3 separate regions of the Homo sapiens genome follow, and all the other regions are linked to region 3. Evidence: promoter capture Hi-C in human tissues and cell types (Jung and others, 2019). All regions are on one chromosome and are shown on one strand. Each heading gives the region's core, a stretch centred on a gene start or on the middle of the fragment in contact. The rest is flanking DNA. Distances are from core to core; before and after follow the strand shown.

Region 1 (4,596 bases), core at 1,453-3,952, 60 kb before region 3:
GAGATTATGAGATTAAAAACAAATCCCATCTATATGCTGCCCATAAAACATACCATTAAACACAAGAACACAAATCAATTAAATACGTTAAAAGTAAAAAGATAGGAGGCTGGGTGTGGTGTCCCAGCACTTTGGGAGGCCAAGGCAGGTGGATCACTTGAGGCCAAGAATTTGAGACCAGGCTGGCCAACATGGTGAAACCTCATTGCTACTAAAAACACAAAAATTAGCTGGGCTTGGTGGTGCAAGCCTGTAATTCCAGCTACTTGGGAGGCTGAGGCACAACAATTGCTTGAACCTGGGAGGTGGAGGTTGCAGTGAGCCAAGATCACGCCATTGCACTCCAGCCTGGGCAACAGAGAGAGATTCTGTCTCAAAAAAAAAAAAGTAAAAAGATGGGAAAAGATATGCTAACACTAATGAAAGCTGGAGTAGCTCTCTTAGTATCAAAGTAGATTTCAGGGAAGAGAATATTGCCCAGAAAAAAAAGTATCATTCCAAGAGAAAATTATAATTCTATATGTTTTTATACTAAAAAACAGAGCTTCAAAATATATGAAACAATAACTGGTAAGTAAGAAAGGAAAATAGACAAAGTCATGGTTATAGCTGAAGTTATTTCAACATTCTTCTTTTAATAATCAACAGAACAAGTAGAAAGAAAATCAGCAAGAATATAGTAGCCTGAGATAACCAACCAGACCTAACTGACATTTACAGAACATTCCACCCAATAATGGCAGAAAACATGTTCTCAAGCACACACAGAATATTCACTAAGATAGACCATATTCAGGGCCATAATACAACTCTCAATAAAGGAAAACAGATTTAAATCACTAAGTACGTTTTCTTATCACAATGGAACTAAATTAGAAATCAATGGCAAAGTACTAATTGGGAAACCCCCAACTATTTGGAAACTAAATAACTCCCATGGTTCACAGAAGAAATCATATAATCCACTTCTAAATAATCCACAGGTCAAAGGAGAAGTCAAAATGGAAATCACAAAGTATTTAGAACCGAATAAAAATTAAAGAACAGCATATATATAAAAACTGTGGGATGCAGCTAAAGTAATGCTAGGAGTGAAATTTACAGCATTTAAACAACCATATTAGAAAAGAAGAAAGGTCTCAAATCAAAGATCCAGGCTTCCACCTTAAGAATCTGAAAAAAAAGGCCGGGCACAGTGGCTCACGCCTGTAATCCCAGCACTTTGGGAGGCTGAGGCGGGTGGATCACCTGAGTTCAGGAGTTCGAGACCAGCCTGGCCAACATGGTGAAACCCCGTCTCCACTAAAAATACAAAAAATTAGCCAGGCATGGTGGCATACGCCTGTAATCCCAGCTACTTGGGAGGCTGAGGCAGGAGAATCACTTGAACCCGGGAGGCGGAGGTTGCAGTGAGCTGAGATCACACCATTGCACTCCAACCTGGGGGACAAGAGCGAAACTCCGTCTCAAAAAAAAAAAATTTTTTTTGAAAAAAAAAAAAAAAAAGGATAAAGTTAACTGAAAATAAATAGAAGAAAGGAAATAATAAAGGCCCAAGCAGAAATCAATGAACTAGAAAACCAAAGCAAAAGGGAGATCAATGAAACCAAAGGTGGTTCTTTGAGAGGATCATAACATTGACACACTTCTAGACAGACCATTCAGAAAAAAAGACAGACGACTCGGGTGAAGTCCTTGTTCTGCCTCTTCCCAGTCGTGTGGCCTTGAGAAGTTCTGTTTTATTTTTCATCTTTCATAGGCTCACTTTCCTCACTGACAAAATGGAAAAAATAATAAACTCATTCTCAAAGCTGTTATAAGAATCAAAAGCTTTTTAAGTAGTTTCCTAAGACAATGCTACACACACTGGGGAGAAAGGAGTCAGCAGCCCTACACTGTAAATGTTTCTGAAGTTTCTGTACATTACGATGTCTAGACATCTTAAAAGACCTTTCTGGCTGCGGAGACACTGCCTTCAGGGTTAGGCAAGTACTAGAGAAAAAAGCAGCCCCAAGTGTGTCTCTGATATGCCAGCTAACCCCTCTGGAGCCATCCTTCCTCCACCAGCCTGGCCTGCACCCCAGGAGGCAAGATTTTTCTGCCTTAAGCCTGAAACCCACCAAAATTCCTCCAACTGCAAGTCCTAAGCTGGTCGCCTTTCTTCACCTTGCCTTTATCAAGAAAATCTCGATAAAGGCTGTGGCCTAAACCACAGCTTTGGCTTCTCCTCCTGGCCACCCTGGTGTCCTCTGACATGGCCCTACGTGGCATGCTGTGCCTCCTGTCTCTAGGACCTGTGAGTATAATAAACTGGTTTTCTTCCTGAGCCTTTCGCTGTCTCCCCTTGTGGCCACACCTGCCTGATCATCTCATAAAGTCATACAAAACAAGTCTCTGAAAAACATGGGGTCTCTAAGCATTTCCCAAACTTTGACTTTTTTTTTTTTTTTTTTTGAGAAGGAGTCTCGCTCTGTTGCCAGGCTGGAGTGCAGTGGTGCAGTCTTGGCTCACTATAACCTCCGCCTCCCGGGTTCAAGTGATTCTCCTGCCTCAGCCTCCCAAGTAGCTGGGATCACAGGCACACACCACCACACCCAGCTAATTTTTGTATTTTTAGTAGAGACGGGGTTTGGCCAAGCTGGTTTCAAACTCCTGACCTCAGGTGATCTGCCTCCCTCGGCCTCCCAAAGTGCTGGGATTACAGGCGTGAGCCACCATGCCCGGCTTCCAAACTTTGACTTCTAAGCTGACCCCATGAATCCCCTGGGCGTGCCCTGAAGAATACAGATCCTGATTCGGAGATCTGGGGTGGGGCCTGAGATCCTGCCTTTCCAGTAAGCTCCCAGGAGATGCCCAGTGCCCAGGCTGCTGGTCCCAGGCCACACTCTGAGTCTCAAGGTTTAAGATAACAAGGCATAGGCCAGGCGCAGTGGCTCACGCCTATAATCTCAGCACTTTGGGAGGCTGAGGCGGGCGGATCACTTGAGGTCAGGAGTTCGAGACCAGCCTGGCCAACATGGTGAAACCCCATCTCTACTCAAAATACAAAAATTAGCCAGGTGTGGTGGTGCACGCCTGTAATCCCAGCTACTCGCGAGGCTGAGGCGGGATAATTGCTTGAAACCAGGAGGCAGGTTGCAGTGAGCCAAGATCACGCCAGTGCACTCCAGCCTGGGCAACAGAGTGAGACACCGTCTCCAAAAAAAACCAAAAAACAAAAGATAACAAAGATAACAAAGCATTTTCACTATTTCACGGACAACTGAACTAAAGCTCAGGAACTTTGGAAGCTACTTTGCAAGTCTAAACCCAGGCCAGGCTGGGACTGGAAGCTGGACATCTCCACTCTAAACCCAGCATCCTCTGCACCCCACCAGACTCTCAGTGTTCACCACGGCCTCAAGTCTGCTGAACAGGATCCAGGGAGAGACCACAGAGAACAGACCAGCCTGGGCAGGCAGAAGTGACTCAAGAGCTAAATCCAGCCACCCTCTCTCTTCTGTGGCTGTTGGATTTTGCAGCCCCCAAACAGCAAGACCAAGCTCGGGTTATTCTGAGCTTAATCTGTCCCCTCGGCTCTGAGAAGGTTTGGAGTCACCTATGCTTCCTGACTTTCCTGGGTGTGCCTTCTTCTCTGGGCATCCCTGCCCGGTGCTCAGCCAGGGGACCCATGCCCATCCCGGATGCACTGAGAAGAGGCTTCCACCTCCCCCAGGGTGGTCCTTCACCTGCTGACAGCCCTGCTCCTCCACGACGCAGCCCTCACCACCCCTTTCTCAAAGGACCCCTGGTTGGTTGTGGCTCAGCCTGCAGCCTCCGCGCCTGAAGCTGAAGTTGTACCCCCATAAAGCTGCACAATTCAAACAGAGCCTGTTGGTCTCCCCGGAATTTGTTCTGTCTCCCCAGGACCTGCCAGTAGACTGTGTTTCTCCACCTCGGCACCGCCGACATTTTGGGCCGGATCACTGTTTGCTGTGGAAGGCTGTGCGCCGTCAGGGGCTTAGTGGCATTCCTGGCCCCTCCTCGCTAGTTGCCAGCAACTGCCTCGCCCGGTGGTATCCACCAAAAATGTTTCCCAACATTGCCACGTGTCACCAGGGGGCAAAACTGCTTCAGGTTGAGAACGGCCACAGCTGGCCATGCATCAGTTCTCAGCTCTGACCCTGCATCAGAACCCACCGAGTTTGGCTCAGAGTTTTAAATGTTCTAGAGTTTGGGTCGGGGCGGTGGCTCATGCCTGTAATCCCAGCACTTCGGGAGGCCGAGGCAGGCAGATCACTCGAGGTCAGGAGTTTGAGACCAGTATGGTCAACATGGTGAAACCCCGTCTCTACTATAAATACAAAAATCAGTCGAGCGTGGTGGCATGCGCCTGTAATCCCAGCTACTCAGGAGGCTGAGGCAGGAGAATCACATGAACCTGGGAGGCGGAGGTTGCAGTGAGCCAATATCACACCACTGTACTCCAGCCTGGGCGACAGAGCGAAACTCTGTCTCAAAAAATAATTAATTAATTAATTAAATAAAAAGTACATGTCCCAGAGTTTGGTGTGGTGTTTTAAATGTCCCAATGCTCAAGTGACACCCAGACCAATG
Region 2 (2,952 bases), core at 453-2,952, 42 kb before region 3:
AGGGCCATGCTCCCCTGAAGGCCTAGGGGAGACCCTGCCTTTCCTCTTCCAACTTCTGGGGGCTGTGCCAGTGCTGGGCGTTCCTGGGCTGGCGGCAGAATCGCCCCCATCCCCGCTGAAGCCTTCACATGGCCTTTTTTCCTGTGTCTCCTCTTTGTGTCTCCACTTCTTCTTTTTTTTTTTTTTTGAGACTGAGTCTTGCTCTGTCACCCACGCGGGAGTGCAGTGGCGCAATCTCGGCTCACTACAACCACCACCTCCCAGGTTCGAGCGATTTTTCTGTCTCAGCCTCCAAAGTAGCTAGGACTGCAATCGCACCGCACGCCACCATGCCCAGCTAATTTTTATATTTTTAGTAGAGACGGGGTTTCACCACATTGGCCAGGCTGGTCTTGAACTCCTGACCTCGTGATCCGCCCACCTCAGCCTCCCAAAGTGCTGGGATTACAGGTGTGAGGCACCGCGCCCGGCCTGTTTCCGCTTCTTATAAGGACCCCGTCGGGTTTAGGGCCTACCTGAGCACTTCAGGATGATTTTGTCCCAAGATCTTTATTCGTGAAGTTCCCCTTTCCAAACAAGAACCCCTTCACAGATTCCAGCACACATGTCTTTTGGGGTCAGGGACGACAGGAGGTCAGGACCTTTGCCATTTCCCTATTGGTGCCATTAATTCTTAGTGAGCTGGGAAGGAGCGGGTATAGAGGAAGCCTTGTCCTCTGGCCCCAGCTGGGAAGGAGCGAGTATAGAGGAAGCCTCGTCCTCTGGCCCCTGCCCTATTTGCTCCATGGGACAGACACGAGATTCCGGAGAACTCAAAAGCCGGCGGGCACCAGGGAGCAGCTGCCTGGGGGTGACACAGAAGTGCCAAGGGATGGCTGGAGTCCCTGGAGGCCCATTCGAGGCCTGCTCAGGGAATGGGAGCTGGGCGGAGCTGGGCAAGAGCTGGGCAAGAGCCAGGGCCATTGGGAAGAACTACAGGGTGCTTTCGAATCCGGAAAGCGCTGGAGCCCAGCGGCCGGATGCAGCAGCAGGTGGGTCTACACACACCACCCGCTGCCTCCCTCCGTGTCTGCGGCTGAGCTCTGCTTCTCGGCCCCTCACCACAGGAGTTGGACTGGTGCTCCAGGAGCTGCGTGACGCCGGTGTCCTGAACGACACACTGGTGATCTTCACGTCCGACAACGGGATCCCCTTCCCCAGCGGCAGGACCAACCTGTACTGGCCGGGCACTGCTGAACCCTTACTGGTGTCATCCCCGGAGCACCCAAAACGCTGGGGCCAAGTCAGCGAGGCCTACGTGAGCCTCCTAGGTATGCCTTTGTCTGTCTCCGTCAGGAAAGGTGTGGGAGTGGATCTGGGACGGGGCCATGACCTGTCAGATGCTGCTCCACACCCATTACCTAATGTGGCTCTCATATCATCTGGGTGAGGAAGGGACTGTCACTCCCACTCTACAGAGGAAAAGAATGAGGCTCAGAGAGGTGAAGTAAGCTGCTCAGGATTGCACAGCTGGTAAGCACTAAGCTAGGATTCTCGCCTGGATCCTGCTGCTTTCAAAACCATTGCCTTTTCCCCGCCTACCTCCGATGAGCTTCAGAATCACCTGGGATGCTTGTTAATATCCAAATTGCAAATCCCAGGGTGTCCGATTCAGTAGATCTTGGCGGGCTCAAGAATTTGCATGTCTGACAAGTTCCCAGGTGATGCCGATACTGTGGGCCTGGGGACCCCTCTCTGAGCATCCGTGCACCCCATCCTGCCTTCCTGGGGGACCCAAAGCACCTCATGACCCTGCTCATTCCTAAAAAGACCTAGGACATCTAGTCCCATGTTATGGATGTGCAGACAAAGACACGGGTGCAGGAAGACTTTGTGAGGGGCTCGGGGTGACCCCTTCGGCACAGGGCAGAGGCTCGTGTGTCCTGCCCACTGCCTGGCAGAGCCTCCAGGTGGGGTGGGCCCGGGACAGCAGGAAACTCAGGTTCCCTTTCCCTCCGAGCTCGCGGCCCACATCTCTCTTGGGGCCCACATCTCTCTCTGGCCCCAAATGATGAGCCAGGAGCACTGTGGCCACACCCACCACAGGGGCTGGAGTACACGAGCTACCAAAAAGGAGACTTCTTTTCCAGTCCATGGGATTTTAGAAGGATCCTAAATGTCACCGAATCAGGGCCTCTTGTTATACCATTCAAGGCACTGAGGCCCAGAGAGATGACGTGGCGGTGAGAGGTGTCGGCTCGACAAGGCACCTCCCGCTGCTGATTGGATTGGAGAAGGGAGCCGCCCAGAGTGGCGTAGGTTCGGCCCTTCCGAGGGCAGCTCCTGTGTGCTGAGGGCTCTGCTGCTCTGAGATGCCGCGTCCCTTCCAGACCTCACGCCCACCATCTTGGATTGGTTCTCGATCCCGTACCCCAGCTACGCCATCTTTGGCTCGAAGACCATCCACCTCACTGGCCGGTCCCTCCTGCCGGCGCTGGAGGCCGAGCCCCTCTGGGCCACCGTCTTTGGCAGCCAGAGCCACCACGAGGTCACCATGTCCTACCCCATGCGCTCCGTGCAGCACCGGCACTTCCGCCTCGTGCACAACCTCAACTTCAAGATGCCCTTTCCCATCGACCAGGACTTCTACGTCTCACCCACCTTCCAGGACCTCCTGAACCGCACCACAGCTGGTCAGCCCACGGGCTGGTACAAGGACCTCCGTCATTACTACTACCGGGCGCGCTGGGAGCTCTACGACCGGAGCCGGGACCCCCACGAGACCCAGAACCTGGCCACCGACCCGCGCTTTGCTCAGCTTCTGGAGATGCTTCGGGACCAGCTGGCCAAGTGGCAGTGGGAGACCCACGACCCCTGGGTGTGCGCCCCCGACGGCGTCCTGGAGGAGAAGCTCTCTCCCCAGTGCCAGCCCCTCCACAATGAGCTGTGACCATCCCAGGAGGCCTGTGCACA
Region 3 (4,403 bases), core at 607-3,106:
TGCCCCTGACTTGCCCGAGCCTCACAAGACTCCTGAGGAGGGTCTGAGGGTGCTGACTGTGCCCTCCCATCAGACTGAACTCAGAAAGCCAGGGCAGCTCAAGCCAAAGCTGCCTCACCAGCAGCTGAAGACAGGGGCTCTGCAGAACTCTCCAGACCCCAGCCAACTGCCCCAGCCAGCTGCCCCTCAGGCTTCTGGAGCCCCCAGAGCCACACTGAACTTCAAGCATCAGTGGGTGGAGCTAAATAGAAGTCACTAGTCCCTTCTGCAGTTGCCATGAAGCAACTTACAGTAGTCTCCAATGGCAGTTAACAATTGCAGGAGTTTCTTTGTAACTTGTCCCAGTGTAAATAAGGGTTAGTCCTAACAGTAAAACAAAACAAAACAAAACAAAAAACCTTAGGGCTGGGCACAGTGGCTCAGGCCTGTAATCCCAGCACTTTGGAGGCCAAGGCAGGAGGATTGCTTGAGCTCAAGAGTTCAAGGCTGCAGTGAGCTATGATTGTGCCACTGCCCTCCAGCCTGGGTGACAGAGCAAGACCCTGGCTCAAAAAAAGGAAAAGAAAGAAAGAGAGAGAGAGAGAAAGAAAGAAAGAAAAGAAGAAAAGAAAGAGAGAGGAAGGAAGGGAAGGAGAGAGAGAAGGAAGGAAGGAAGGAAGGAAGGAAGGAAGGAAGGAAGGGAGGGAGGGAGGGAGGGAGGGAGGGAGGGAGGAAGGGGAGGGGAAGGGGAAGGTGAATGGGAAGGCGCCAGGAGCCGTGGCTCACGCCCGTAATCCCAGCACTTTGGGAGACCAAGATGGGCGGATTACCTGAAGTCAGGAGTTTGAGACCAGCCTAGCCAACGTGACAAAACCCTGTCTCTACTAAAAATAAAAAAATTAACCAGGTGTGGTGGCGTGCACCTATAGTCCCAGCTACTTGGGAGACTGAGGCAGGAGAATCACCTGAACCCAGGAGGCAGAAATTGCAGTGAGCCGAGATTGTGCCACTGCAACTCTAGCCTGGGCGACAGAGGGAGACTTCTGAAAAAGGAGAGAAGAGGGGAGGGGAGGAGAGGGGAGAGGAGGGGAGGGGAGAGGAGGGGAGGGGACGGGAGGGGAGGGGACGGGAGGGGAGGGGAGGGCCCAGAGATCTCTAATTCCAAACTCTGAATCTAACTGTACAGCAATTCTAGAAGAGCCTAAGATCATAAAATCCTGAGCATCTAAGATGTGGGTTCTCCTTATTTGACCCCTCCCAGGTCAACATCCTTCTCCTAACCCAAGTGTCAGTCTCTTCCCTTGCCAGTGAAGTAGGGAAGAAGGCATGTACACATACACACACGCACACGCACACACACACATGTACATACCCCATGGGGGGCAGAGGGTCACAAGCCCAGGAGGAGGGGGCACAGCTCACCTCGGCCCCCCAGTGCCATGACAGGCTGGCTGTGCCTCTGCTACCAACAGCAGCCAGCTGGTCTTGCTCACTTTGTTCTGAACTTAGACACCTTCCTTCTGCTGTCTTTCATCCCACGGCAATAGCGAAGAGATGAGAGTATAAAACAGAGATCCCTTTCATCTAGCATGACCCATGCTGTTTTAAGGCAGAACTCAGCATTCAGAGAATGTTCCAGTGATTGACCCAGCAACACAGACAAGCCGTTTTCTGTTCTCTAGTCCACATACAAGGCAGCTCCTCCACTCCTGATGAGGAAGATGCCGGCCCCTCCCACTCCCCTGGGACCACTCTCGGGCCCCATCAGACCTGTGTCGGCTGAGCCCCTCCGTAGGCTGAGCCCTCCGTAGGCTGACCTGCTCTTCGCCGGATGGACTGCGCGCACTTACCTTCCCCCTCCCAGGGAAGCGAGGACTGAATGTGGCCCAATCTCTGGCTGAACTGAACGGCAGTGGACAAGCAGGTTTGACAGGCACATCCCACAGGAGCAGTGCCTTATATGGGGCTTCTATGAGCCATCGAAGCACCAGTGCAGTCCCACAGCTAGACATTGCCGTAAGAACCACAGGGATGGCTGAGAACAGTCCGTGCATCTGGTCGACCCACAGAAGATGGTGATTGAGGGTGATTGAGGGGAAGGCTTCAGGCTTGGGGGCTGGGAATCCTCTCTCCTTTGTGAACGGTCACCCAGTTCATCATCATTTCTACCCTTGGGAAAATCCTACGAAGATCAGGATAAATTCTAGGGCCTTTCTTGGTTCTCATGATCCATTATTGGAAGTATCTGAATAATTCCAATAGATCCATCTCAAGTTAACATTTCATAACTATTGTTTAGATTTAGATGAAAGTCTTGGTCCTCCACCTTGAGATATGTCTAGAATCCGATCCATTCTCACCACCTGCATTGTGGTGTCCTGATCATGGCCCACCGGGACCTCTGTAATGGCTCCTAACTTCTTCCCACGCCCCCATCACCAGCGCTCAACACAGCAGACAGAGAAGTCCTGCTAGGGCATGAGTCAGCTCCTGTCATTCCCTTCGGTGTACAGGTCCTGGAGTCCTCAGCGTGACCATGAGGCTCTGCTTATCAGGTCCTTGCTGACCTTATCTCTCTTTTACCTGCTCCAGACACACAGCCCAACAGTCTTGACAGTCCAGGCACACTTCTGCCCCAGGGCCTTTGCACCTGCTGTTCCCACTGCCTGGAACACTCTTTCCCATCCCTCCTTCCAGACTCTACTCAAATGCTACTTCCCAGATCATCCTACTTAAGTCCGTAGACCTCCCATCCTGGCCTTCACTCCCCTTCCCTGTTCCATCTTCTCTGTGGGAATACTGCCTTGACCTAACGTGTATTCTAGTTACGTGGCTTCCTGCCAGCCTCCCCACTCCACAGTAACCTACTGAGGACAATAATTCTTGTCTTTCTTGTTCCCTGCTGTGTCCCCACCCCTAGGGCTGTGATATTCCACAAATATTGGTTGAGCGAATGAATAAACATTGGTTAGGGGCTTGGTTCCCAATGATGCAGACACTGAAAGAAGGGAAATTCACAGGTCCATGGCCTGAGAACCTTCAGGATTATCCTGCGGACAATCAAAGATCGGCCTTCAAGGTCATGTAGCTCATGGTGGCTGAGCAGTAGCTCCAACCCAAATCTCCTGGTGATGAGCCGGCTGAAGGCACAGCCAGTTGGGCAGAGCAAGTGAGAACGCAGGCCGAGGCCAGGTGCAGACATGAACTCTCCAACCAGGGTTACAGCCCCACTGGGTGTCAGCTTCCCCTCAGGCAGTTCATTTAAGCCCCTAAGGCTCAGCTCTCTTAGTTTCCTCCAGCAGACCTCATGATAAGCCCTCCCCCACAGTGGGGAAGCTTGCCAGCTCATCACACTGTGCCAGCCACACAGAGAATTCTAGTTACAGAAAACGCAAAGAAATGCCGCCATTCCCAGTAAAAGAGGGGGGCAGAAGAATGCACTGGAGATGGGAGGAGCCTCCCTAAGAACAGAAATAGCCATAGAAATAGTCAAGGTGCAGCCATAGAAAGGAATGAAGGGCCTTTGCAGAGACATGGATGAAGCTGGAAGCCATCATTCTCAGCAAACTAACATGGGAACAGAAACCCAAACACTGCATGTTCTCACTCATAAGTGGGAGCTGAACAATGAGAACACATGGACACAGGGAGGGGAACAACACACACTGGGGCCTATGGTAGGGGGAGTGGAGGGAGAGCATCAGGACAAATAGCTAATGCACGTGGGGCTTAAAACCTAGGTGATGGGTTGACAGGTGTAGCAAACCACCATGGCACATGTCTACTTATGTAACAAACCTGCACATTCTGCACATGTATCCCGGAACCTAAAATAAAATAAAATAAAAAGAAACAGTCAAGGAAGCCACAACCCTGAAGGACCCTGTGTTTTCTGAGGTCAAAAACCATATCTTAGGCTAGGTGCAGTGGCTCATGCCTGTAACCCCAGTGCATTGAGAGGCTGAGGAGGGAGGATTGCTTGAGGCCAAGAGTTCGAGACCAGCCTGGGCAACACAGGAAGACCCTGTCTCTACAAAAAATAATTTTAAAAAAAAGCCGGGTATGGTGCAACATGCCTGTGGTCCCAGCTACTCCGGAGGCTGAGGTGGGAGGATCGCTTCAGCCCAGGAGGTAGACGCTGCAGTGAGCCGTGGTTGCACCACTGCACTCCAGCCTGGGCAACAGAAGGAGACCCTGTCTCAAACAAAACAAAACAAAACGTATCTTAATCACTATGGCATCTTCAGGAGGGCCCCACTGGCAGGTCATCTATATCACACAGAATTGCAGCTGCATACACATATCCAGAGCCAATAAAGCAGCACCTCTAGTAATCTGGCCAGGTTAGGTTAGGGTATCCCTGGAAAAACTCAGAAGGGGGACCTGGGGGACAGGGGCCAGCAGGCACCAGGACAGCACCACCC

The links. The method cuts DNA at HindIII sites, captures the fragments that hold promoters and counts their contacts. A contact is called where the count stands out against the background at its distance.
Region 1: a contact is called between a fragment that was not itself captured here and the fragment with the promoter of CARD14 in region 3, in 5 of the 25 tissues and cell types used here (bladder, lymphoblastoid cells, mesendoderm cells and 2 more).
Region 2: a contact is called between a fragment that was not itself captured here and the fragment with the promoter of CARD14 in region 3, in 1 of the 25 tissues and cell types used here (spleen).

Annotation. Positions count from the first base shown.
Region 1 is chr17:80,228,052-80,232,647 of GRCh38, reverse strand. The region is part of intron 7 of SLC26A11 (solute carrier family 26 member 11); the gene reads right to left. Among named protein-coding and RNA genes, the nearest start is that of SLC26A11, 9.9 kb to the right of the region's middle. The HindIII fragment of the contact is 6,759 bases long and covers 1-4,596 here.
Region 2 is chr17:80,210,429-80,213,380 of GRCh38, reverse strand. It overlaps SGSH (N-sulfoglucosamine sulfohydrolase), which reads left to right. Exons shown (of 8, transcript NM_000199.5): 7 at 1,107-1,310; 8 at 2,370-2,952. The coding sequence ends at 2,929. Among named protein-coding and RNA genes, the nearest start is that of SGSH, 8.4 kb to the left of the region's middle. The HindIII fragment of the contact is 4,264 bases long and covers 1-2,952 here.
Region 3 is chr17:80,167,483-80,171,885 of GRCh38, reverse strand. It overlaps CARD14 (caspase recruitment domain family member 14), which reads right to left and starts at 1,856. Exons shown (of 24, transcript NM_001366385.1): 1 at 1,830-1,856. The HindIII fragment of the contact is 21,960 bases long and covers 1-4,074 here.